7 separate regions of the Homo sapiens genome follow, and regions 1, 2, 3, 4, 5 and 7 are each linked to region 6. Evidence: promoter capture Hi-C in human tissues and cell types (Jung and others, 2019). All regions are on one chromosome and are shown on one strand. The core of a region is centred on a gene start or on the middle of the fragment in contact, and the rest is flanking DNA. Distances in the headings are between cores, read along the strand shown.

The links. The method cuts DNA at HindIII sites, captures the fragments that hold promoters and counts their contacts. A contact is called where the count stands out against the background at its distance.
Region 1: a contact is called between a fragment that was not itself captured here and the fragment with the promoter of CREBBP in region 6, in 2 of the 25 tissues and cell types used here (IMR-90 fibroblasts and aorta).
Region 2: a contact is called between the fragment with the promoter of ZNF597 here and the fragment with the promoter of CREBBP in region 6, in 1 of the 25 tissues and cell types used here (heart right ventricle).
Region 3: a fragment that was not itself captured here is called in contact with the fragment with the promoter of CREBBP in region 6 in 1 of the 25 tissues and cell types used here (lymphoblastoid cells).
Region 4: a fragment that was not itself captured here is called in contact with the fragment with the promoter of CREBBP in region 6 in 1 of the 25 tissues and cell types used here (dorsolateral prefrontal cortex).
Region 5: a fragment that was not itself captured here is called in contact with the fragment with the promoter of CREBBP in region 6 in 1 of the 25 tissues and cell types used here (lymphoblastoid cells).
Region 7: the fragment with the promoter of ZSCAN32 here is called in contact with the fragment with the promoter of CREBBP in region 6 in 1 of the 25 tissues and cell types used here (thymus).

Annotation. Positions count from the first base shown.
Region 1 is chr16:4,162,284-4,165,858 of GRCh38, forward strand. No RefSeq gene overlaps it. Among named protein-coding and RNA genes, the nearest start is that of ADCY9, 48 kb to the left of the region's middle. The HindIII fragment of the contact is 3,036 bases long and covers 386-3,421 here.
Region 2 is chr16:3,441,338-3,445,111 of GRCh38, forward strand. It overlaps ZNF597 (zinc finger protein 597), which reads right to left and starts at 2,167. Exons shown (of 4, transcript NM_152457.3): 1 at 2,023-2,167; 2 at 1,784-1,869. The coding sequence starts at 1,816. NAA60 (N-alpha-acetyltransferase 60, NatF catalytic subunit) reads left to right here and starts at 2,343. Exons shown (of 8, transcript NM_001083601.3): 1 at 2,343-2,500. RefSeq lists an enhancer at 2,427-2,576. The HindIII fragment of the contact is 11,416 bases long and covers 1-3,774 here.
Region 3 is chr16:3,555,245-3,558,783 of GRCh38, forward strand. NLRC3 (NLR family CARD domain containing 3) reads right to left here. Exons shown (of 20, transcript NM_178844.4): 7 at 2,349-2,432; 8 at 1,667-1,750. LOC101929732 (a long non-coding RNA gene) reads left to right here. Exons shown (of 4, transcript XR_007064953.1): 3 at 2,155-2,245. Among named protein-coding and RNA genes, the nearest start is that of NLRC3, 20 kb to the right of the region's middle. The HindIII fragment of the contact is 4,749 bases long and covers 1-3,539 here.
Region 4 is chr16:3,532,256-3,535,787 of GRCh38, forward strand. CLUAP1 (clusterin associated protein 1) reads left to right here. Exons shown (of 12, transcript NM_015041.3): 11 at 531-586. Among named protein-coding and RNA genes, the nearest start is that of CLUAP1, 33 kb to the left of the region's middle. The HindIII fragment of the contact is 7,388 bases long and covers 1-3,532 here.
Region 5 is chr16:3,585,419-3,589,080 of GRCh38, forward strand. SLX4 (SLX4 structure-specific endonuclease subunit) reads right to left here. Exons shown (of 15, transcript NM_032444.4): 12 at 3,584-3,662. Among named protein-coding and RNA genes, the nearest start is that of NLRC3, 9.8 kb to the left of the region's middle. RefSeq lists an enhancer at 1,990-2,059. The HindIII fragment of the contact is 6,051 bases long and covers 1-3,662 here.
Region 6 is chr16:3,878,458-3,882,239 of GRCh38, forward strand. CREBBP (CREB binding lysine acetyltransferase) reads right to left here and starts at 2,256. Exons shown (of 31, transcript NM_004380.3): 1 at 1,375-2,256. The coding sequence starts at 1,459. RefSeq lists silencers at 1,245-1,294, 1,375-1,424, 1,465-1,774, 2,112-2,161, 2,182-2,731 and an enhancer at 1,935-2,511. The HindIII fragment of the contact is 21,091 bases long and covers 1-3,782 here.
Region 7 is chr16:3,398,978-3,402,645 of GRCh38, forward strand. ZSCAN32 (zinc finger and SCAN domain containing 32) reads right to left here and starts at 2,027. Exons shown (of 7, transcript NM_001284527.2): 1 at 1,968-2,027. It overlaps ZNF174 (zinc finger protein 174), which reads left to right and starts at 2,238. Exons shown (of 3, transcript NM_003450.3): 1 at 2,238-3,429. The coding sequence starts at 3,028. LOC105371059 (a long non-coding RNA gene) reads left to right here. Exons shown (of 4, transcript XR_007064949.1): 3 at 1-549; 4 at 654-692. RefSeq lists silencers at 1,665-1,814, 2,365-2,584 and an enhancer at 1,788-2,287. The HindIII fragment of the contact is 10,964 bases long and covers 1-3,668 here.

The DNA of each region.
Region 1 (3,575 bases), core at 654-3,153, 280 kb after region 6:
AGAGGCTGAGGTAGGAGGATGGCTTGAGCCTGAGGGACAGAGGTTCCAGTGAGCCAAGATCACACCACTGCACTCCATCCTGGGCGAAAGAGCCAGACCCTGTCTCAAAAAATAACCAAAAAAGAAACAAACAGGCTGGGCACCGTAGCTCACGCCTGTAATCCCAGCACTTTGGGAGGCCGAGGCGGGTGGATTACCCGAGGTCAGGAGTTTGAGACCAGCCTGATCAACATGGTGAAACCCTGTCTCTCCTAAAAATACAAAAATTAGCCGGGCGTGGTGGCGCATGCCGGTAGTCCCAGCTATTCGGGAGGCTGAGGCAGAAGAATCGCTTGAACCCAGGGGGCAGAGGTTGCAGTGAGCCGAGATTGCGCCATTGCACTCCAGCCAGGACACTAAGAGCAAAACTCCGTCTCAAAACAAACAAACAAACAAAAAGCAAGGAAATTCTAGCTGGGTATGGTGGTGCACACCTGTAGTCCCAGCTACTGGGATGGCTGAGGTAGGAGAATAGCTTAAGGCCAGGAGTTCAAGGCCAGCCTGGGCAACACAACACATGCTACAACGTGCATGAACCTTGAGGACATTATCTTAAATGAAATAAGACAATGCTGTATGATTCCATTTGTATGACTCTAGTTACCTAGAAGAGTCAGATTCCTAGAGACTGAAAGTAGGATGGTGATTGCCAAAGAGGAGGATGGGGAGTTATTGTTAATTTTATTTTATTTTTGAGACAGGGTCTCACTTTATCACCCAGGCTGGAGTGAAGTGGTACAATCACATCTCATTGCAGCCTCAGCCTCCTGGGTCCAAGCGATCCTCCCACCTCAGCCTCCCAAGTAGCTCAGACTATAGGCATGTGCCACCACACTTGGCTAATTATAGACTTTTTGTAGAGACGAGGTCTCACTATGTTACCCAAGCTGATCTTGAACTCCTGAGCTCAAGGGATCCTCCTGCCTCAACCTCCCAGCTGTGCAGCACGCGGCTGAGTTATGGTTTAATGGGTAGAGAGTTTCAGTTTTACAAGATGAAAAGAGTTCTGAAGACAGATTGGTGATGGTTACACATCAATGTGAATGTTGTTACTACCATTTAGCTATACACTTTAAAATGCTTGAGTTAGTAAATTTTTTTGTTTTTTTGGTTTTTCTTTTTTGTTTTTGTGAGACAGAGTCTTACTCTGTCACCCAGGCTGGAGTACAGTGGCACAATCTCGGCTCACTGCAACCTCTGCCTCCCAGGTTCAAGCGATTCCTCTGCCTTAGCCTCCTGAGTAGCTGGGCCTACAGGCGTGCACCACCACACCCAGCCGAGTTAGTAAGTTTTATGTCATGTGTACTTTATTATAATTTAAAACAAAAAACCTGGCTGGGTGTGGTGGCTCACACCTGTAATCTCAGCACTTTGGGAGGCTGAGGTGGGTGGATCACCTGAGGTCAGGAGTTCGAGACCAGCCTGGCCAATATGACAAAACCCCGTCTCTACTAAAAATACAAAATTAGCTGGGCATGGTGGTTCATGCCTGTAATCCTAGCTACTCAGGAGGCTGAAGCAGGAGAATTGCCTGAACCCGGGAGGCAGAGGTTGCAGGTAGCCGAGATTGCACCACTGCACTCCAGCCTGGGCAACAGAACGAAACTCTGTTTCAAAAATAAAATAAAATAAAACAAAAAATCTCATGACCCACATCAAAAGGTGTAGGCAAGGGGTGCCTTTCTTATGACACATAAAACGCCCACTTTTTTTCCTTTTAAAAATACAAATATAACTTTTTATTAAACAGCTAAACATAGACAACATTAGCAAAATGCTTTTTAAAGAAATATTATTCACAGAATATGCTTTAAAAAAATTAACATTCAAGCACAATTTGATCTTTTCTCATTAACTCTTCACTAATATCAAACAGGCGTAATCATTTTTGTAAGACTATTTTCTGAATGCTTAAGCGCAAAGAAGAATGCCAAGTACATAAATGTGCATTAATTCATCTACTCTTCCTGACACCAGGAAGTAGATTTTAATATGATACTTATCCCATTTCTCAGAATTAGAACTGAGAGTTAGAGATATTAAAGAACTTGCCCAAAGCCACAAACCCGGTGTCAGAGTTGAGACCCAATCTAGTCTTCTGACTCCAGAATCGATGCTGTCTTATTAAAAGACGACGGTTCTCAAGGAACATGAAAACAGCCATTCTCTCATCAGTTAGGGGCCTGTTTAAACAAATCCACCCCAAAAAGCTTTTTCTTAGCATTCTCTACTAATAGCTTGCAAACTGTCTTCCAAAAATAATTTTTAAGTCTGCATCCTTTACAACAACAACAACAAAAAACCTTCAAACAATTCAGTGTAAGGACCTTTTTTTAGTAGAATGTGGTTTTGGAGCAGAAGCAGACGATGAGTTCTTGGCCAAATCTTACATCTTTTAAGGCCTCTTCTATAAAATCGGACAACTCAGAAGTGATAAGGACCAGAAACACGCCAGGTCCATGTTTTTTACATGGCCCTTCCAGACATAGATCCCGCCTCCGCCACCATCTCTACAGAGTCGTCTAGTTCCTTCTGAGATAGAAAGGTCATCCCAACAGCAATGATTCTGGTTTAGCAGGGGGGATATTTGAAGCAGGTCCCTTTGGAGGAAGTGGGCCCCTCCTACAAGCCAAGCTTTCAACAGCCGGAGTTTGTGTTTTGCGACTCCAAACTGATCACCGTTGACTGTACTAACGTTGGTTCTCCAGGACACATTTGGAAATGAGACAAACAGATCCTCACTGAGTCTTCGCTGGTCTCCTGATCTATTTTTTTTTTTTTTTTTTTTTTGAGATGGTCTTGCTCCATCACCCAGGCTGGAGTGCATTGGCACAATCACTGCTCACTGCAGCCTCTGACTTCCCAGGCTCAAGCAATCCTCCCACCTCAGCCTCTCGAGTAGCTGGAACTACAGGCATGTGCCACCATGCTTAGCTAAATTTTTTGTATTTTTTGTAGAGGTGGGGTCTCACTATGTTGCCCAGGCTGGTCTCAAATTCCTGGGCTCAAATGATCCTCCCACCACGGCCTCCCAAAGTGCTTGGATGAGCCATGAGCCACCACACCCGGCCTTGGCTGTTCTCTTGAATGAAGGGGATTACAAACTGGGGGTCTCAGGCTGGCCCTTTCTTGCCTTCTGGGTGGTCTGGAAGCAGGGACAGCCACTCTGCACAGAGTGCACGTCGCAGCAAGCACACTGAGGGGATGCCTGGCTTCTTGATGGCTTTCCTCTTCCTACTTAAAGTCCCTTCCTGAGACACAGTTGTATTCCCGGCCTTAGATCTCATATGTCCCTGAATCTTTTAAATAAATTATTCTCTTTGGCTTAAACTACTTCCAGATCATTGGGGTACATGTCATAAGAGAATCCTAACTGATACACTATTAAATTCATTTCTTCATGACTTGTATGACCACTGAAGTTAATTTGTCCTATTGTAGTCCAGATTCAAAGAAGAGGAAAGAATCTCCAGACAAGTGTGGCCCACCAGCATGAAGAGGAAAGCTCTCCAAGCCATGAGGACCAAAAATGAGCC
Region 2 (3,774 bases), core at 917-3,416, 440 kb before region 6:
TCAGGTGTTCGAGACCAGCCTGGCCAATATGGTGAAACCCTGTCTCTACTAAAATTACAAAAATTAAGGCTGGGCACAGTGGCTCACGCCTGTAACCCCAGCACTTTGGAAGGTGGAGGCGAGTGGATCACCTGAGGTCAGGAGTTCAAGACCAGCCTGACCAACATGGTGAAATTCTGTCTGCACTAAATACAAAAAATTAGCCAGGTGTGGTGGCGCATGCCTATAATCCCAGCTACTTGGGAGGCTGAGGCAGGAGAATCATTTGAACCTAGGAGAAAGAGGTTGCAGTAAGCCGAGATTGCACCATTGCACTCCAGCCTGGGCAACAAGAGTAAAACTCCGTCTCAAGCAGAGCTTGCAGTGAGCTGAGATCGTGCCACTGCACTCCAGCCTGGGCAACAGAGCGACACTCCATCTCAAAAACAAAAACAAAAACAAAACAACAACAAAAAAAACTCTGTCTCAAAAAATAAATTAAAATAAAATGAAATTAGCCAGATGTGGTGGCATGCGCCTGTAGTCCCAGCTACTTGGGAGGCTGGGCCAGGAGAATCGTTTGAATCCAGGAGGCAGAGATTGCAGTGAGCCGAGATCGCGCCATTGCACTCCAGCCTAGGCGTCGCAGCGAGACTGTCTCAAAAAAAAAAAAAAAAAGAAAAGAAAAGGAGAAAGTTGGGCAGCCCAGGAAGAATCATAAAGAGATAAAGGTTACAGGATTCTCCCAACATCCTTCCCTTTGCTATTTCCTCTCGTCCCCATGACACTCATTGCTAAGCTCACTCCAGCACTTCATCCAGGCCTACCCCACCTTCTCTAACGGTGTGATAAATTAATCACTTGGGATTTATTATTACTCAACGAGTGTGGAGTCTAGAAATGTGCTTAATTTAAAAATTCATTCAAATTGGAGAAGTACCAAATCTGTAATTTTGGGAACCATTCCAGAAAGTCACTTTTAATCCTAGCACTTTGGGGAGCCGAGGTGGGAGGATAGCTGAAGGCCAGGAGTTCCTTGGCAAAGCAGCAAGACTCCATCTCCATAAAGAAGTTTTAGGCCGGGCGCAGTGGCTCACACCTGTAATTCCAGCACTTTGGGAGACCGAGGCGGGCGGATCACAAGGTCAGGAGATTGAGACCATCCTGGCTAACACGGTGAAACCCCGTCTCTACTAAAAATACAAAAAATTAGCAGGGCGTGGCGGCAGGCGCCTGTAGTCCCATCTACTCGGGAGGCTGAGGCAGGAGAATGGCATGAACCCGGGAGGCGGAGCTTGCAGTGAGCCGAGATCGCGCCACTGCACTCCAGCCTGGGCGACAGAGCGAGACTCTGTATCAAAAAAAAAAAAAAAAGAACTTTTAAAAGTAGCCAGACACTGTGGTATGCGCGCCTCTCAGATACTCGAGAGGCTGAGGCGTAAGGATTCCCTGAGTTCCAGACGGAGCTATGATATCAGCACTGCACTCCAGCCAGACAAGCAACACTCCAGCGACAAGGCCAGACCCTATCTCCAAACAAAACAAAACAAACAGATAAGACATTGAGAAACTCTCTCAGAGATTCCTCCACAGGTCCCTGCTCCCAGTTGGTAGTTCTGAAAGAAGGAAGTTGGTAAACCATTATGTGTGTGGTCTTGGAACGAAGAACACTTGGTCAAAGGGCTATTTGGGGCTCAGGAGCACTCCTACCACAACAGGCATGCCCAACTCTCCTCCAAAGGAGGGGGTCAGGCAGAGACCGAAAGCAGCAATAAACTTGGACGAAAAAGGTACCTCGACTCACCTGGGCCTCGGGCGTCGGGGGCATGGACGCCATTTGGCGGGTGGGGAATGCCTTCTTCAAGACGCCACAGGGACTTCGTGACAAAGCTGCGGGGGGAGAGAACAGTTCTTAAAGGGACCAATTCCGCTGCCAAGTTCCTCCACTACCCCTAGCCTCCCTCGATTCCCTCCGAACCCCCCCTTAAAAACCTACGCCGACTGCTCCTCCTCTTGGCCCGGCCTCGAAAGGGGCCCACTTACCGCTCCGCGGTTAATAACAGGCCTCGCGCTCCCTGACAGGAGCTGCAGAAAGCGACGCCCGACCGAGACGCGACGAAGAACGCCACGGCCACTGCAAAACTCCCACGCTCTCATGCTCCTTTACGCAGGAGCTGCGGGAAAAGCCGCCGGAAGCGACCCGCCCTCAGCCCTCTCCGCCATCCTGCCCTTTGATTGGTCGAAGTTCTCCCGAAGGGGAAGTCCTTCTTTTGTGTTGACCAATTGAACACCTTAACCGAGGACCTGTAGCCACTGGGCAGCTGCGAGAGGTAGTTTTCCTCCTTTTCTCTAAGCAACCATTTCCGCTTCCGCTGGCGGGGTCTCCTCCGTGAGCTCCGGGCCTGTTTGCCTGCTGAAGTAGAGTCTTAGGGTGACCCCAGGGGGACGTAATGTTTCCGAGAAGAAGGACAGAAAGAAGACTGGGAGACACCGGAACTCGAAAGAAAATCGGTAACAAAATGTGGGTTCGGCCAACAGTGCCCTGTAGGCCTGAAATTTCGGTCTGGCCAGAGCAAGGTGATTGAGAGGGCGGGGGTTCGGGCCTAGCCTGGGCTTGAGCTGTCCTTTGTGTCTTGAGCGGATGGTGGGGCCGTGGAACATGAAGGAGTATCTTTGTGTACGTTCACAACGTTCACATCGGTGTAGGCCAGGTTGCTGGACTCTGACTCAAAGTGTTATAGAGGCATTACGTATTGTACCCGCAGCTGCAGCCTAAGCGAGCTGCTTCAGCTTCCTAGTCACAGGATCCCACGCGAGAATAGAGCCATAGGTTAGCGTCGCAGGACGTTGTTCGCCCCCGGATACCTCACATGCAGCCTACCCTAGAGCCAGTCATTTCCTATTGTGTGCTGGGGGAGGAGGGAGTGCCCTGGTGTAGGCATTTGGAATTGGAAAATTGAGCTCCTCCCCAAGCTCTGCCACTGATTGGTTGGTAATCTTGGCCAGTTTACAACTTTGCTTTCCTCAGCTGCAAACAGCTCAGAGTGCCTCTCTGGGCTAACTCAGAGGGTAATTTCAAAGATTATAAGATAATGTAAGTGAAAGAAATTGCCAGTTTATAAAGGTGTTTGGGGAAAAAAAAAGACGAAAATGATAGGTACCTTGATAGAAAAGCCTGAAAAGTCTCAACATATTTCCTTATTCCAGTGCCAGGCACATTCCTGTATCTAAAAGCTTAATGAATGGCTGCATGGTTATTAAAACAATATTAGGAGATTTGACAACTTAGGTAATGTGATTTTGTGGAATATCTGATAGGATAGTTTCAGCTACAAGTAACAGAAAACCCACCGAAAGGATGTTCAAAGAGCAGTTACAGGTTGGTTAATTCGGTGGCCCAGTGACAACATCAAGGTCCCAGTGCTTCTCTGCCACCCTAAGCATGTTGGTAACGTTGACAATAGAATCCAGGTAAAATATACAGACATGTATTGTGTCATGTACCCATCCTAAACTAGTTATTACCAAGAATAAATAATTGTTTGGGGCCCATCATGCTTCAGCCCCTGTCACTAGGGGAAGGACCTAGCCTCCCTTGATAATCTACCTGCACAAAATTAGGGCTTTGTTACAAATGAAAAAAAGAGATGTGGAAAATAAGTTAGATAAGAAACTAGCAGTATCTGCCACAAATGATATCTCTTGACAGCTAACTAAGAGCTAGACCTTGTGGGGATGGATCACAAAAGAGGTAGCTGTGAAGTCCCAGTAAAGGTGCTTCCAGGACAGGTGGAA
Region 3 (3,539 bases), core at 246-2,745, 320 kb before region 6:
AAAAGTTAAAATAAAATGGAAGGAAGCATTGACACATGGTACCACACGGATGAAGCTTAAAAACATCATGCTCAATGAGGAAAGCCGCACACCAAAGGCGAGCCTATATAAATCTATTTACATGAAATGTCCAGAATAGGTAAATCCTTAGAGATGGGAAGCAGATTGGTGATTGTGAGGGGCTGGGGAAAGGGGAGAATGGGAAGTGACTGTTTATGGGTATGAGGTCTCCTTCAGGGGTGATGAAAATATTCTGGAACTGGACAGATGTGATGGTGGCACAACATTGTGAATTTGCTCAATGCCACTGAACTGTACACTTTAAAACAGTCAGGGTTTTTTTTAGACAGAGTCTCGCTCTGTCGCCCAGGCTGGAGTGCAGTGGCGCGATCTTGGCTCACTGCAACCTCCGCCTCCCGGGCTCAACTCAACCTCAGCCTCCTGAGTAGCTAGGACCACAGGCACCTGTCACCATGCCTGGCTAACTTTTTGTACTTTTCTTTTCTTTTTTTTTTTTAGTAGATATGAGGTTTTACCATGTTGGCCAGGCTGGTCTCGAACTCCCGACCTCAAGTGATCCACCTGCCTTGGCCTCCCAAAGTGCTGGGATTACAGGCATCAGCCTCTGGGACCCGCCTAAAACAGTCAATTTTATGGTACATGAATTTCACCCTAATAAAAATAAATAAATAAATAAATAAATAAATAAATAAATAAATAAATAAATGAAAACAGAACAGAAAAGTGGTACCCACTCAGCTAAGTATAGATATAACCACAGGCTTTTAAAAGAGACATAACTGGCTGGGCTCGGTGACTCACACTTGTAATCCCAGCACTTTGGGAGGCCAAGGCAGGCAGATGGCTTGAGTGCAGGAGCTCGAGACCAGCCTGGTCAAAATGGTGAAAGCTCGTCTCTACTAAAAATACAAAAAAATTAGCCAGGCGTGGTGGCAGGAGCCTGTAATCCCAGCTACTTGGAAGGCTGAGGCAGGAGAATCGCTTAAACCCAGGAGGCAGAGGTTGCAGTGAGACAAGATCTCCAGCCTGGGTGACAAAGAAAGAATCCGTCTCAAAAAAAAAAAAAAAAAAAAAAAAAAAAAAAAAAAAGAGACGTAACAAACCACATCACAACTCTGTCCCCTGCTCAGGCCACACACACAGGCTCAAGTCTAGGGAAGAGCTGGACCCTGGAAACTTGCGTAGGGCATAAGATCCCCAGTACCCAATGGGATGGGAGCCAGTATCCCATGCCTGCCATCTTTGTTTGCTTGCTTGTTGAGAGAGTTTCACTCTGTCACCCAGGCTGGAGTGTAGTGGCGCGATCTCAACTTACTGCAACCTCTGCTTCCCAGACTCAAGCGATTCTCCTACCTTAGCCTCCCGAGTTGCTGGGATTACAGGCACCTGCCACCACGCCAGCTAATTTTTGTTTTTTAGTAGAGATGCCATTTCGCCATGTTGGCCAGGCTGCTCTCGAGCTCCTGACCTCAAGCGATCCACCTGTCTCAGCCTCCCAAAGGGTTGGGATTACAGATGTGAGCCACTGTGCCCGGCCCCATGCCTGCCATTGTGAATCACCTCCCATTCTCATAGGTGGTGCCTGAGGAGAGGGTTTTCTGGGCCCTCTCTTGGGGTCACAACACAGGGAGCAGGTGACACACACCTCAGGGAGGTCAGGGTGCGGTTGATCTTCAAAGCGTCTGCCAGCGCCTTGGCCCCTTGTGGTCCAATGGAGTTACCGCGGAGGCTGAAGGAAGAGAGAAAGAGACACCTCCTTCATCTGTCTCCCAGAGAGGGAAGGGGAAACAGAAACTGCATTGACCTTGAAATTCGTGATCCTCTAAGGGAATGTGTAAGGGCTTAGGATCTCATGTTTGGTGGAACCAGGGCAGAGATCCTTATATAAACAAGGAAGGAGTTTCCCCACGACTGTCTCAGGTGTTGGGGGAAAGAAAGCAGCACCTGATGGACTAGTGGGCTTGGGCCAAATGTGGAGATGAGAATGATGGCCCCAGATGCAGGGCAAACATCTGGTGTGTCCCTGGCTGTAGCCCGGCAACTGAGGAGCCATGGTTCAGCCCGGCTGTCCTTCTGCCCCACCAGGAAGGCATGTGCGCTAAGGTGTGGCCTCCCTGTGTCTTATTCCCACAGGAGTCTTAGAACCTGCTCCAAATGAAGTATGGATATTATGTCCAGATGCTACCCAGGGGCTGAATCATGGGAATCAGGGAAGAACAGACAGGTAAGACCCAAGTCATTTCCTAGGAGGGAGGGGACTTCACAAGATGCCTCACAACTCTTCTGGTTCCAATGGCAAAAGTTCGGCCTTGGTTGTCCTTACTTACTCCAGAGAGGTCAGACTTCTGTTGACCAAGAGGGATCTGGCCAGAGCTTTGGCCCCTTTGTTACTGATCTGGTTCTCCGCCAAGCTGCCCAAGGAAAGGGAGAGGAGTGGTTATTTTAGGCATGCACATCTCATGGCCTCTTCCTCAACGCTGTGCCCGTGATTAATCCTCTAGGCTCCCCCACATCATCAGGGTCTGGACATAGGTGGAGATGAGGTGACCCCTGGAGCAGAATGCCAGGCACAGCAGAGCCCCTGAGCCTGGGCAGCGTAGGGCCAGAGTGGGAGGACAGACCCTCATCATGGCAAAGGGTCTCAGGAAAAAGTTTAACCAGAATCCAGCACAACAGCTTCTACACAAACAGCACAGCAAAGAAAATGGAAATCTCGGAAGCCTAACATGCAGATGGCAGCCAGTGGTGTACTGGTAAACTGGCTCCCAGGAAAAACAAAATTTCAAAAACTGGGCTGTGCGTGGTGGCTCATGCCTATACAATCCCAGCACTTTGGGAGGCCAAGGCGGGAGCATCACTTGAAACCAGGCGTTTGAGACTAGCCTGGGAAACATAGGGAGATCTTGTCTCCACGAAAAACATAAAAATTAGTCAGGTGGCGCACCTGTAGTCCAAGCTACTTGGGAGGCTGAGGAGGGAGGATTTAGCCTAGAAGGTTGAGGCTGCAATGAGCCATGATGACATCACTGCGCTCCAGCCTGAGCGACAGAGTGAGACCATGTCTCAAAACAACAACAAAACAAAAAACAAATGCTAGCAAACTGATTTGTAGTATCTGCCACTTTCCATGGTATAAATACTCCCAGCAACACCAAGTTCAAGCACCTCCACCTTGCAAAATTCCTGAAAATTTAACAATCAGCTTTCGTGAACTGGTACAAACAAATTTAGGCACACTACTGATCCTAGCCTCTTTTCTAGTGCAAAATGGCAAATGGTAGAGTTATTTAAAATTAACTTTAAAATTAAAAAAAAACCACACACACACACACACACACACACATCTTGATTTGCCTCAAAAGCATGGTTCTGGGAATATGGTGGTGGATCAACTCAATGTTACTTCATGTATCCAGCTGCAGAAATAGTAGCTGTCCAGGCTCTTTGCCGTTTGTAGGCATTCAGCCCCATGGGATATAGTAGTTCAATTAGAATCCCCAGGCTGGTGCTCTTCTTTT
Region 4 (3,532 bases), core at 402-2,901, 350 kb before region 6:
TCTGCATATCTTTAGGTTGCATCATTAAAAGTCAAATTCTTAGGTCAAAGGTTCCATAAATTTTTATTTTAATACTATAAAATTCTCCTATATTTGCCTTTAAAAACATTTCTTATCTACCACCTGTTAATGTTTGGAGCACAGTTGCTTTTTTTTTTTTTTTTTTTTTTTTTTTTGGAGACAGAATCTCATTCTGTCGTTCACGCTAGAGTGCAGTGGCACGATCTCAGCTCACTGCAACCTCTGCTTCCTGGTTTCAAGCGAGTCTCCTGCCTCAGCCTCCCGAGTAGCTGAGACTACAGGTGTGAACCACCATACCTGGCTAATGTTTAAAAAAATTTCTGTAGAAATGAGGTTTCATTATGTTGCCCAGGCTGGCCTCAAACTCCTGGCCTCCTGTCTCAGCCTCCCAAATTCCTGGGATTATACGCAAAAGCCAACATGCCTGGCCAGAAAACAAATCTTGAATGCTATTTCCTGCTTTATTTTCCAAGATTTTTATGACTTCTTCATGCTTTTGTTGTTCTCAGGAAGACCTGGCAAACGCATTGTGGGCACGATGCAAGGTGGAGACTCCGATGACAATGTAAGTCCCCCGCTCCCCTCAGTGGTTCTGTGCACTCTGGGTTTGGCTGTCCCCATAGATGGGAGTGGCTGAGTTGCTGTCAGCAGCCAGGGAGCCGTCTATGGTCAGCCCGGCCGTGCCTCGATGCGTGGCAGGGTTTGGCCTCATGAGGCTCTGGACTCTTCGTTGCTCGTGGATGGCTCATCTCTTTTCAAGTGAATGTGCTTGCTCTGCTTTTTTTGCCTTCTCACTGTTCTTTCCATTCTCGCTTTCCAAAGATGGAAGCAGCACCAGCTCTCTTAGGTAAATGCAAGACTTCCAGCTCCAAGAAGCAGGTTGGTTTTCTGTTCTGCCTCATGTGTTTGTGGGTGTCTGTCAGCCCTCCCGGGGCCAGCCAGGGGCCTCTCCCTAGGAGTGATGCTTCCTCTCTCCTGGGCAAAAAGGCCACTCAAAAGAGATCCTGTGGTGACAGCGGGATCACTGAAGGCCCCTGTGCTAAAGTGGAGGCGCAGGCACGGAGCCTGGAGGCGGGGAAAGCTCAGGCCGGGCCATCCTCAGGCCCTGGGCCGCCACCTAGAAATGAAGGAGGACGCCGAGGGCCGGGCTCAGGACCAACCCCCCTCCCTGTTCTGTGCTGGGGACGGAATGGTGAAGCAGCACTGTCCCCAGACCAGGCCCTCGAGGTGCCAGGCATGAGGCTGAGACATAAGCTGCCTTGAGCTTTACTGAGTGGATAACTCCCTGGAGCACTTAAGCAAAAGGGGATTCTAGGGGTCCTCAGTGAGGTCCAGTCATCAGGGCTCTGCCGCCCATTGCTCAAGCCTACGTTCTTTGTTGCGTCCCTGGCAGTGCTGCTCGGCCCACACAGCAAAGGGCGACTCAACAGAGACTGACCCCAGGCTGCCTCCATGTGCCCTGAATTTACAGGGCACAGTCTGTAGAGAAGCAGAGAGAGCAACTGGAAAATAATTTTCCTAACAAGCTCGGGTGTGGATGGTATACAGCGTCTCTCCGTCTTGCCCACCCAAGACAGAAGCAGAGGGAGTGTGGCGTGGGTGCTGGCAATGCTGAGGCAGCACCGCCTGCCTCTTCTCCAGGGTTTGCCTTCTCTCTCCTCAGAGCGAATGCATTAGTCGCAGCTGAGCTTTATGCCTGGTGGTCACTTGTTTATTTCAAGGAGGCTGTGTCCATGCCGCCCTCCAGGCACAGGGTTCCATGCTTTACGTGTTCAGGCATCCAACACGTGTCTGTTGAGTGCCTGCCACATGCCAGTGCTGTCGTGGATTATGGGGAACGCAGCAGGGGCAGAGGCAAGCCCCTGCTTCATGGCTCACACCCCAGCAATAATGATGGATTGTCGGATCAGGGCTCATGGTGTTAACAGGAGGAATAACAGCTTCAGGGGACAGGGAGTGACAGGGAACAAGGAGGGGGTGGCGTCTTCTGCGAGGTCAGTGAAGGCCCCTGACGTGGTGGTGTTTGAGCAGGGCCTGAGTGGAGGGAGCGAGCGCATGGGTTGGCGGCACCTGGGCATGTGGAATGCACTCCTCGCATCGAGGAGCAGAGGCAGCTGGTGTGATTGTGGGTGAGTGCGAGAGGCAGCAGGGGCCATGCAGAGCTTTGCAGGGTGAGATGAAGACTCTGTTTTCTCTGAGTGTGAGGGGAAGGCCCTGAAGAATCATGAGCCCAGAAGGGTCAAGAGCTGATGATCCCTGTTTGAGAGAAGCCAGTTAGGAGGCGCCTGCACCCGTGGAGGTCAGAGGTGACGGTGCTTGGCCGAAGGTGTGGCAGCAGAGGTGTTGAGAAATGGTCAGGTCCTGGGTCTCTCTAAGAACCATCAGGTTTTGTGAATTGATTGGACATAGGCTGTTAGAGAAAGAGAAAAATGAGGGTGCCTGGGCTTGGTCTAATCAGCAGAAAGCAGAGTTTCATTTTCTGAGATGGGGCCGACTTGACAAAGGGGCTTGGAAGGCAGATCGAAAGTTTGATTTTGGACATTCTGAATGTGACAGCCACATGCTAGGGTTGAGTAGCCAGGTGGAATTTAAGTCTGGAGTTCAAGGGCCACGTCTGGGCTAGAGATTGAATTTTGGGAGCCACCCTTATTTGGTTGGTATCTAAGCCACAAGGATAGATGTGACTGCCTAGGGAGAGCAAGTAGAATGAGAAGAGAGGCGACCCAAGGTCCTGAGCTGCATCTGCCCTGCAGAGGTCCGGGAGGAAGGGGCAGGCAGAGGAGGCTGAGGGGCGTCAGCAGTGAGGAAGGGGGACCTGGACTAGAGAAGGGGCCCTGGGGGATGGAGAAGATGGGTTTTAAGGATGAAGGGGTGATTCCACAGCTCAAGCAGGATGAGGCCTGAGAATCGATCCCAGTCCGTTGAATGTTTCCTTCTTGACAGGAGCAGTGCTGGGGTCAGTAGGTGAGAGCCCGGGGGAACTGAAGCAGTCGTGAGGGGCACAGGTGTGGACAGTGAGTTCAACGACTCGCTCAGGAGCTTTGTGTGAGGGGAGAGAGACAGGGCAGAGCAGCTGGAGAGGAAGGTGGGATTACCTTTGGGGTTTTTTTTCAAGAAGGAAATTACAGCATGAGTGTGCACCGACAGGAATGATCTAGATAGAACGACCAGCCATCCTGGTTTACATGGGACGCAGGAACTGCCGTTTTAAAGCTGGGCTGAGTTGGTCACCCTGGAGCCCTGGATCCGATGAGGAGAGAGAGGGTGTGTCTTTCACTTTGCTCCCTTTTTTTCTTTTTTTTCTTTTTTTTTTGAGATGGAGTCTTGCTTTGGAGTGCAGTGGTGCAATCTCGGCTCACTGCACCTCTGCCTCCCAGGTTCAAGCGATTCTTCTGCCTCAGTCTCCGGAGTAGCTGGGATTCACTTTGCTCCTTATACCAATGTCTATGTTGCTTTCCATCCACAATCTACAAAAAGCCAAAACAGGCCTCCCTTCCCTCTCTCCAAGCCC
Region 5 (3,662 bases), core at 577-3,076, 290 kb before region 6:
TATTAAAAATACAAAAAATTAGCTGGGCGTGGTGGCGGGCGCCTGTAGTCCCAGCTGCTTGGGAGGCTGAGGCAGGAGAATGGCGTGAACCTGGGAGGCGGAGCTTGCAGTGAGCCGAGATCACACCACTGCACTCCAGCCTGGGCGACAGAGCAAGACTCTGTCTCAAAAAAAAAAAAAAAAAAGGGCAAAGGATGTGAACAGACATTTCTCCAGAGAAGATCTACAAATGGCCAATAAGCACATGAAAAGGTGCCCGACATCATTAGTCATCAGGGAAATGCAAGTCAAAACCACAGTGAGATACCACTGCACGCCCACTAGGATGGCCATAACAAAAAACACAGAGGGTTTGGGCAAAATGGCAGAACCCTATCTCTACAAAAAAAAAAAAAAAAAAATACAAAAAAAGTTAGCAGGGTGTGGTGGCCCAAGTCACCAATGTGGGCAGCTGTTTGTGGCTGGTTCCAGCTACTCGGGAGGCTGAGGTGGGAGGATCACCTGAGCCAGGAAGGTTGAGGCTGCAGCAAGCCATGAACACGCCACTGCACTCCAGCCTGGGCGACAGAGCAAGACCTTGTCTCAAAACAATAACAACAACAACAAAAACAGAATAACAAGTGTTGGTGGAGATTTAAAATGGTGCAGTCACTTTGGAAAACAGTCTCGCAGTTCCTCACAATGCTAAACACAGTTGCCATATGACCCAGCAATTCCACTCCTAAGTACAGAACCAAGAAGAAGGAAAACATGTCTACACGAAAACTTGCACATCAATATTCCTAAGTGGCATTATTAATAACCACAAATTAAAAACAACCCGTGTGTCCACTAGTAGATGAATGGATAAGCAAAATGTGGCATACCATCAGTGGGGTATTAGACATACAAAGGAATGTATGCCCAAAGCCAGGGCAACATAGCAAGACCCAGTCTCTACTAAAAAAAAAAAATTAGCTGGGCATGGTGGCAGCTGCCTGTAGTCCCAGCTACTCAGGAGGTTGAGGTGGGAGGATCACTTGAGCCTGGGAGGTCGAGGCTACAATGAGCTGTAATTGCGCCACTGCACTTCAGCCTGGGTGACAGAGCAAGACCCCTGACTCAAAAACAGGCCAGGCACAGTGGCTCAGGCTTGTAATCCCAGCACTGTGGGAGACCAAAGTGGGTGGATCACTTGAGGTTAGGAGTTCGAGACCAGCTTGGCCAACATGGTGAAACCCCATCTGTACTAAAAATACAAAAAAATTAGCCGGGCATGGCATGGCGATGGGCGCTTGTAATCCCAGCTACTCGGGAGGCTGAGGCGGGAGAATCGCTTGGACCCAGGAGGTGGAGGTTGCAGTGAGCCGAGATCGTGCCACTGCACTCTAGCCTGGGCAACAGAGAGAGGCTCCGTCTCAAAAAAAAAAAAAAAGAATAAAAAGGAATAAAATACTGATCCATGCTACAACATGTATGAATCTTGAAAACTGTATGCTAACTGAAAGAAGCCAGACACAGACACAAAAGGCCACATATTAGTTATATATGGCTCTGTTTATATGAAATGTCCAGGACAGGCAAATCCATAGAGACAGAAAGGTTCTTGGTTGCCAGGGCTGGGGGAAGGGGAAGGTGAGAGACTGCTCATGGGTACAGGATTTTTGAGATGATGAAAATGTTCTAGAATTAGAGAGTGGGGACAATTGTACAACACTGTGAATGTACTGAGAAGCACTGAACTGTCCATTTTAAAAGGGTGGATATTATGGTATGTGAATTATATCTAAATAAAGCTGTTACTTTAAAAAATAATAGGCTGGGCGAGGTGGCTCACGCCTGTAATCCCAGCACTTTGGGAGGCCGAGGTGGGCGGATCACCTGAGGTCAGCAGCTCAAGACCAGCCTGATCAACATGGTGAAACCCGACTCTACTAAAAATACAAAAATTAGCTGGGCGTGGTGCTGGGTGCCTGTAATCCCAGCTACTCGGGAGGCTGAGGCAGGAGAATCCCTTGAACCCGAGAGGTGGAGGTTGCAGTGAGCCGAGATAGCCCCACTGCACTCCAGCCTGGTGACACATTGGAAACAGTCAGACTTTGGTTCTTCTGCCTTTTATGACCATGGAGCCCTTTGAGCCCCCGATGAAAGCGGCAGGCTCTGTCTCCTGAGAAAAGCACGATTCTTCCTGTGGCCGCAGCGTCGTCCTGAAGCCCACCTCAGATCTGCTGTGCAGCCTCCTGCAGCTGTTCTCACAGCACTGCCTGGGAACTGGTTAGAAATGCAAATTCTTAGTCACCCTCCCGAAGCAAGGCTCTGGGGCAGGCTGGGCCACGGGCGTGCTATAAGAAGCTCTCCAGGTGTTTCTGAAGCCCCTGAGGGCCGAGGACACTATCAGTGGCCTCATTCATCTGGATTTTGGGAGGAAATGGGCCCCCAGGCCGCAGGCAGGTGCTCACTCACAGCCTGGCCTTTCTCCCAGTCATGCTCAGCCCAGCCCGGCCTGTCCTTGCCCTCCCCGGAGGTGCCTGGATGGGAGCAGCAGCACCGAGGGGGCCGACACCTGGGGCTCTGACTCTCCCCGGGGACTGAAATGAGCAGGGAGGTGGCATCCCTGCACCTGGGAGGACCAGGAAGAACAGGCCTAACAGCCTCTCACACTTGTCCCACCTGATTCTTTTTTTAATTGAGGTGAAATTCACATAAAAAAATCGTAAAGGGAATAATTCAGTGGCATTAAGTATTCACAATGTTGTACAACCATCACCTCTATCTATTTGCAAAACATTTTCACCACCCCAAAAGGACACCCTGTATCCCATAAGCAGTCACTCCCCATTCCCCCTCCCTCCAACCCAGGCCAACCACTAACCTGCATTTTCTCTGGATTTGCCTATTCTAGACATTTCATATCCATGAGTGCAGACAGTACATGACCTTCTATGTCTGGCTTCTCTCACCCGGCAGCATGTTTTCTGGGTCGTCCACGCGGTAGCGTGTGGCAGTGCCTCACTCCTCTTTGTGGCTGAACACTATTCCATTTTCTAGTGGTCTAGATGGACCACGTTTGGTTTCCCTGTTCATCTCCTGACGGGCATTTGGGTTGCTTCCAGCTTTTGGCGATTGTGAACAGCGCTTCTATGAACATGCATGTCTGAGTCCCTGTTTTTAATTCTTTTGGATATACAGGTAAAAGTGGAATTGCTGGGTCCTGCAGTCAATCTACGGTTAACATTCTGGAGAACCACCCTGGTCCAATCTTAAGGCATGCCGATACTTGCTGAATGAGTTGTGGCCTTTGGAGGTGCCGGCTCCGTGTTCTGGAGAAGGGTCCACAGATGTGGATTTTTAACACATGCCCAGGTGAGCACTGGAGCCAGGCAAGTTTGGGAAACACTGACTTACTGGCTGAGAAGTGTAGCATGAGAACCAGCCCGGCTCTCCTCCACTGTGGAGGGGAGTCTGGAAGGCAGCGGAAGTGTCATGCCTCAGGTCAGCAGGCATTCAGAGGGCAGCCCCTGGGTCTCATGACTGATCTTCCCACCCTCTTAGTGTAAAATAGTAACAAAGACAGTCCCCTTCCCCAGCTCTCCTGGCTACTCACTGGGTGTCTCTAACCCTTCGGGCTTCTGAGCTCCACCAGCGCTTGGCATCTGGGCCGGAGGAGGGGTCTCTGGAGGCCT
Region 6 (3,782 bases), core at 1,006-3,505:
TCCTTATGATTGATCTTTAAAAATCGCTTTTCACTTCTACATTAATATTAAACGTCGCTTATCATAACTTGATTCCAGGAATTGTATTCAAACTTAAGCCACAAAATTCAGGTTTTGTTTCAACAGCAATAGCAGTTTTTTTTAATATGCTAGTGGTCGGTCACAGAACTATTTCCACAAGTTGAACAGCTGTGTCTAGTGCAAATCTGAAGGCAGCGATGTAATTCAATTTGGACTCATTCATTAGAAACTGATTTTCAGATGCTACCACTGCAAGACTACTGGAGAAATGCAAGCTGCGCTGGAGATGGAATTGTTCGCAGCGGCACACAAGTTTTTGCGGCAAAGGAGAGAGCTCTAAAAGAGGAAATACAACTAGTTCATGTTACCATGAACCAGCGCAGTGGGACCCAGAATTACTGAATTAATAGAAAACTAAATACTTCTCTTAAGCAGCTATGATAACTTAAGAAAGTTTCCAGGGAAGCCGTTTAATGAAAGGAAACAAACAAAAAGATGATTTATTCAGTATCCTGCTCCATTTTTTTGAAAAATTGGAATTCCTACATTCCTTAATTCTTTGTACATCTACACTGTGAAAGCAACACAAACTCAAATGGAGATTGCAGCCCAAATGAACTTAAACCTGCTGTTTAACTTTCTTTTGAAGTTATACATGGAAATGAAACACACCACAGCAACTTTCATGACATCTTGCTAACGAAGTTTGGGTTTTGAAAAATGGAATGACTAGTTGACTAAAAACACACACGCGCGCACACACACACACACACACACACACACAAAACAAGGAGTTTTGAAAATAAGCACTAAGCATCTTTCCAAGGAACTCACTCATTCCAAGAAACTTCGGTTCTAACTCGCAAGCTGGCGGCTGCTGTGAGTGTCCTCTGAATGCAGCCTGGTCAATGTGTCGCCAATCCAGAAAACACACTGCCCTACCTTTGGCCGCGATCTTGCTTTCTCTAAGCATCAAAGGTACCCTCCGCTGTCATTCCTCTGGACGGCCACGCGTGTGGACACGGCCGCGGATGGATGCGTAGGACATTACCAAACAAACCCACACGCTGCACTTTACTTCTTCCCTCCTGGAGTGCCACTAGGGTCCCCGCGAGGAGGGCTGATCGGGTGCGGGGAGGCCGAGTGCACCGGGCGTGTGCTGACCAACTCGGGCCCAGTGACAGTCCTGCGACGAACTTCCACCCTCCCGCGCGGGGCGAGGGGAACGGGCTGCGGGGCCTGCTCCGAGCTCCCGGCTCGATCGGTATCCGCGACCACGACCCCCGGACGCTCTCTTTCAGGTGGGGGTGACAGCGCGCCCCGGGCCCCCGCCGCCCCGGACCCCCTCCTCACCTGTGCTGTCATTCGCCGAGAAACCGGGCGAGCTGAGTTTGGCTCTTTTGGGGTTGGGCGGTCCGTCCAGCAAGTTCTCAGCCATTTTCACCTGCTCGCGAAAACAGCCCCGGGCACGGGCGGCCGGGCCGGCGAGGGCCCGGACGGGGGTCGGGGGCCCTGCCGGCTGCGAGGGAGAGGAGCGAGCGCGGGCCGCGAGCGGGCGGGCGGGCGCCGAGGGAGAGGGAGGGCGCAGGCCGGGTGGGGGAGGCGGCGGCCAAATCTCAGCCACAGCAACAGCGCCCCGCAGCGCTCACCGCCCGCCCCCGGCCGCCGCCGCCGCCGCCGGCCGCGGCCCCCTCATCCCCTGCCCGCCTCCCGAGCGCGACACTCCGCGGTGGGGGCGCCCCGGCGGCCCGGCCGCCCCCCCGGGCCCGGCTGGCAGCGACGGCGCCCGGCCGGGCGGCTCAGGCAGTCCCCGAGAACATGGTGCCGCCGCCGCCGCCGCCTCGCTCCCCCCCCGCGCCCCACTTAATGAATTCGCTCGCGGCCCGACGACGAGGGGGCTCCGGGCTCCGCTCCCGGCCCGCGGCCCGCCGCCGCCGCCGCCGTGAGGAAAAACAATGCGCCGAGCGGGGTCGCCGCCGCCGCCGCGGCCCCCCCACCCCCCGTTCCGCCGCCGCCGCCGCCGCTGCCGCCGCCGCCGCCGCCGGGCTCCGGGAGGCCGAGCCGAGAGGCGAGCGGGGCCGCCGGGGCGGGCGCCGAGGGCCGGGCGGAGCGGGCCGGCCGGGCGGAGCGGGGTGCGCGGGCGGTTGTGGGGCCCGGGACCGGCGGGGCCGAGTAGATCGCGCTCGAAGCCCCGGTCGGGTCCGCGACAAGATGGCGGCTGTTGATTCCTCAATTAAAAAAAAAAGAAAGTTTTTTTTCTTCTCTTTCCAGAGCCTGAACGGGGAGGGGGTGGGGGCGGGGCACGCCGGTGCGTCACCCCCCCGCGGCGTCACCACGCACGGCCCCCGCCCCGCCCCCTCCACCTGCGCCGGCCGTGGCGGAAAGAGCCGAGCGTGCTCGGGCCGAAGGGCTGAAGGCGCGGCCGCCAAGCGTAGGGAAGCTGGCGGCCCGGCGCGGGCCAGGCCTGCGGGGCGCCTGGGCTCCGGGCTGAGCCACAGCTTTTGTTCTGATGGCGACCAGGCGTAGAGGGCCGGGGCTCCGGGCCCCAGCGGGCTCCGGGAGCGGCGGCCTGGCCGCGGGCTGGGCTCTCGGGCGCGGATTCGACGCCAGCCCGGGCCCGCCCGTCCCGCTGGGGCGGCGCTGCGTGTTCCCAGCTCCTCGCGTCCCCTTCCCCAGACCCTCCTAGGTGGCGTCGGTCGGGAACGGTCGGGGCGACCCCAGCCCAGGCCGCGCCACTAGCCTTCGCCGCCGGCCAGGGAAGTGGAATGGCCTCTGCAGGTTACAGACCGCCCTTGGGTCCTGCCGACGAGGTGGGCGGATGGGGAAACTGAGGCGGGGGGCGAGCAACTGCTCCAAAGTGGTCGAGGCAGGAAGTGGCAGGGCCGGGATTCGGGTCCCGCCCTACCTCGTGACACTAGGGAGTGAGGGGGCCTCACGCCTGTTCGCATCCCAAGGCGGCAGGGCAGACACCCTCACCTGTGAGAGCGGGGTGGCGAGGGCCGGCCTGGGCGGAGAAGGGCCCGCGCATCGGGGCTTAAGCCTGGACGCTCAGGCCGCACTCCCCGCCCCAGGCAACTTGCCTGGCGCCTCGCAGGTGCCCCAGACAGGGGTGCGGGCCTGGGGAGTCCCCCACGCGAGACCACAGCCCGCGGGACACTTCTACGAATACCCGAGGTGTTCCCATCCCAGTTAGTTATCTGCCCCTCCAAACTTGCCCGGCTTCCTCATAAAGGTATCAGCAGCTCCACTGTTTCCTAAGCCAGAAACCCGTGAGTCAGCGCGGACTCCTCCCTCTCACCCGCCACGCGCCCCTCTACCCACGGTCTTTACCTGGGAGACTGCTCCTCCCGCACTGTCCCGGTGGCTATGGTGGCAGCTACTCACTTAAGTGTTCTTTGCTCTCCACGTTGCTCCCCACGCAGCACCAGAGTTAACATCCCGAAAAGAGAGGGAGAAAATCTGTTTAAAACAACTCCCTGGCCAGGCGCGGTGGCAGATCACCTGAGGTCAGGAGTTCAAGACCAGCCTGGCCAACATGGTGAAACCCCATCTCTACCAAAAATACAAACATTAGCTGGGCGTGGCGGCGTGCGCCTGTAATCCCAGCTACTCGGGAGGCTGAGATGCGAGAATCACTTGAACTGGGGAGGCCAGTAAGCCGGGATCTCGCCATTGCACTCCATCCTGGGCGACAAGAGTGAAACTCCGTCTCAAAAACAAAACAAAACAAAACAAAATCCCAGACATAGAAAAAGAAAACA
Region 7 (3,668 bases), core at 777-3,276, 480 kb before region 6:
TTTGAGAGGCCAAGGCGGGCGGATCACGTGGTCAGGAGATCTAGACCATCCTGGCTAACAAGATGAAACTCCGTCTCTACTAAAAATACAAAAAAATTAGCTGGGCATGGTGGCACGCACCTGTAGTCGCAGCTACTCGGGAGGCTGAGGCAGGAGAATCGCTTGAACCCGGGAGGCGGAGGTTGCAGTGAGCTGTGATCACGCCATTGCACTCCAGCCTGGGCAACAAGAGCGAGACTGTCTCAAAAAAAGAAAAAGTCCCTCTCATTGGTTCTGGTGGGGATATTAATTACAATACCCACTTCCCCAGAAGTGGGCATATGACACACAGCTAGGCCTATCAAAATTCTTTTCTCAGATTTTACATGAGAGGTAGGGAAAGCTCTTCATTTTCTAGGAATTGGTAAATTGGGCAAATGTAAGATCAGAGTTGTCTCCAACTATGTCCCACTCTCTACTCCACTCTTCCATCACAGGAGTGAGCCTGTTTACAAGAGGACAATATACTCAAGTCTTGACAACATGTTTGGATCTCCAAGGCCAGTTTATGTAAGGCAATATTTTTTTAAGAGTTAATTTTAAAAATAGTTTTATATAATTTAAAATTAATAAATAACTTTTAAAAATAATTTTATTTGTTTTTTTATCTTTAGAGATGGAGTCTCACTCTGTTGCCCAGGCTGGTCTCAAACTCCTGAACTCAAGCAATCCTCCCACCTCAACCTCCCAAAGTGTTAGGATTACAAGTATAAGCCACCATGCCCGACCTTAAAAATAATTTTAAATAGAAGCTAACTTTTGTATTTTTTGTAGAGGTGGAGTTTCACTATGTTGCCCAGGCTGGTCTCAAACTCCTGTGCTCAAGTGATCCTCCCACCTTGGCCTCCCAAAGTGCTGGGATTACAGGTGTGAGCCACTGCACCCGCGAAGGCAGTCTTTTTTAATGAGTTTGTGTTGGTTTTTATCTACTTAAAACACAGATTAAAGCAGATCGTAATTTACATTTTCTCCAGGGGCTGATACACCCTCACCATGTGGTATTAAAATGGATCCAGCATGCACAACAAGATGAATATACTCAGGACTACTGAGCTGTACACTTAAAAATGGTTATGATGGTAAATGTTTTTTAAAAATTAAAGAAATTTTTTTATATTTTAAAAATGGATTTGGGTTCCCTTTTCTCAAGGAACTTGAACTGCCTTCACTTAAATTCTCTTTACATTTCAGTGCTTCTAGAGATAGAGAAATCAAGGGCATTATTATTGTTAGCACTGCTTTCTAGCCAAAAAGAAACTGAGAGCGATGAAGTATCTTGCCTAAAGCATCACACAGCACAGCTCCTAGGCAGCAAGGCCAGGACTAGAACCAGCACCCCTTGCCTTCATTATGTTCATCCTGTGCCTTACCTGGCTGAAGAAGAATTTAATAAAAGCTCTTCTAACTTCATGCAGAAGGCGGAACCTGCACCCTTCTTGACCCCTTTTGACCCCTTACCTCCCACTCATCGTTAAATTTTAAAATGCTGTTCTCTGAAAATTTTACTTCACTCTAGCGATGGCCCAAACACTCGGAAAAAAATGTAGCATGAGGATGGGGAGCCAGGTTGATAGGTTTTTCACTTAGTTAACTATTTATTGAGTACTCAGAACGCACTCGGTGCCAGGGCTAGGCACTGTGGATGAGTAGGGAGTGGGCGAGACAGGGACGAGATGAGCAGGGTCAAGGCCAGGGGGTCCCGGGGCGCCGGCGCTCAGGCTCGGGGTGATCCGCACGGTGGGAGCGGGGCACGGTGATCGCGGCGCGTCTGGGGACGCCCGGCCTGAGGGAGGCTGCCTGTCCCAAGGAGACGCCCATCGGGGCCGGACCCGAACGCCTCGGAGAAGACTCCCAGCGGGGAGGGGCTCCTCGGCCGTCGCAGGGCCCAGCGGCTAATCCCGCCGGCCGCAAGGAAGCGGAGAACTCACCGGACACCAGCACTCGCGACTCCACAAACTCCCTCAGCCTCCGGGCCGGAAGTCAGCGGCGCGATTCGCTCCGCCCATTACGCACGCCCCTGCGCAGGCCCGCAAGCCGAATTGCCGGACTGCAGCTCCCGGGATGCACTGCGACGGTATTGACAGGCGCAGCAACCAATAGACGGTAGAGAATGCCCTTGGCAGGAGGCGGGCCCTGTCAGTAGTTGTCCTCAGCAGCTAGTGGGCGTCTCCGCAGCGAGTGGCATCGGCCCCGCCCCCAGCCCGTGCTCGCCGGTGTCGGGTCCTAAGTCCCTCGGTCTTGGGTTCCCGGAGAGGTGAGTCGGCTGCAGGTGGGTGCGGGGCGCCGGGCTGTTCGGGGTACCGGTGTCGCAGTCGCCAGTCCGAGCTCACACCGGGCGTGGAGTTCAGCTGCGCATCGGGTTGCGGCAGCTTCGCCAGGCCTGGGGCTGGCTGGGCCGCGGGGCCGCCCTGGAGGCCGGAGCCACTGGGCCTGCGGCGCCTCGGCAGCGAGCAGCCGCTTTGCTCGCGTGCAGGAGGCTGTTCGCTACCTCACACCCCCGGCTGGCGCTGTGGCCTCGCTTAGCTCTACCGTTTAGCACCCGGCGACATGCACCCGGTCGGTTTCCGCCAGGATGCGGGAGAGTTGGGGCAAGCTACCTGCGACAGCTTGAACTTTTCCTAGGGATTCCGCTCCACCCGCCGGTTAGAGCGTATTGCTCATTAAATCCGAGACCTGTGTGCTTGCTACTGAAATAAAAGAAGTATTTTTTCCCCAGAGTCCTTTTAGGACGTTATGACTTTTCTCCTTTGCAAGACTGCAAAAAACTGACAAGAAGACAAAACTCTTCCCACTCCCAGGGACCGCGTTGTCTTGAGTTTGGCTAGTAAAGGCTAGCAAGTGAGGCTTTGTCTCTGCATCCCGTTCCCCCTAACATCCTCAGAGAACCTTCGTTTCTAGAATCTTTCTAGTATTCAGAGACTTCTCCAGGGTCATGATCCCAAAGGCTTAACCCGTTTACAAGGAGAGAGTTGTCTCCTGACGCCCAAAATGGCAGCTAAAATGGAGATAACTTTAAGCTCCAACACTGAAGCTTCCTCCAAGCAAGAGAGACACATAATAGCCAAACTAGAAGAGAAACGGGGCCCTCCTCTGCAAAAAAACTGCCCAGATCCTGAGCTCTGCCGCCAGAGCTTCAGACGCTTTTGTTATCAAGAGGTGTCTGGACCCCAAGAGGCTCTCTCCCAGCTCCGACAGCTCTGCCGTCAGTGGTTGCAACCCGAGCTGCACACCAAGGAGCAGATTTTGGAGCTTCTGGTGATGGAGCAGTTCCTGACCATCCTGCCCCCGGAGATCCAGGCTCGGGTCAGGCATCGATGTCCAATGAGCAGCAAGGAGATTGTGACCCTCGTGGAAGATTTTCACAGAGCATCCAAGAAACCAAAGCAGTGGGTAAGGAGGGTCCTCTCCCATCATCCTGGGGATTTCTTTTTCTTTTCTTTTTTTTTTTTTTTCTTTTTTTGAGACGGAATCTTGCTCTTTCGCCCAGGCCCGAGTGCAGTGGCGCTATCTCGGCTCACTGCAAGCTCCGCCTCCCGGGTTCACGCCATTCTCCTGCCTCAGCCTCCCGAGTAGCTGGGACTACAGGCGCCCGCCACCGCGCCCGGCTAATTTTTTGTATTTTTAGTAGA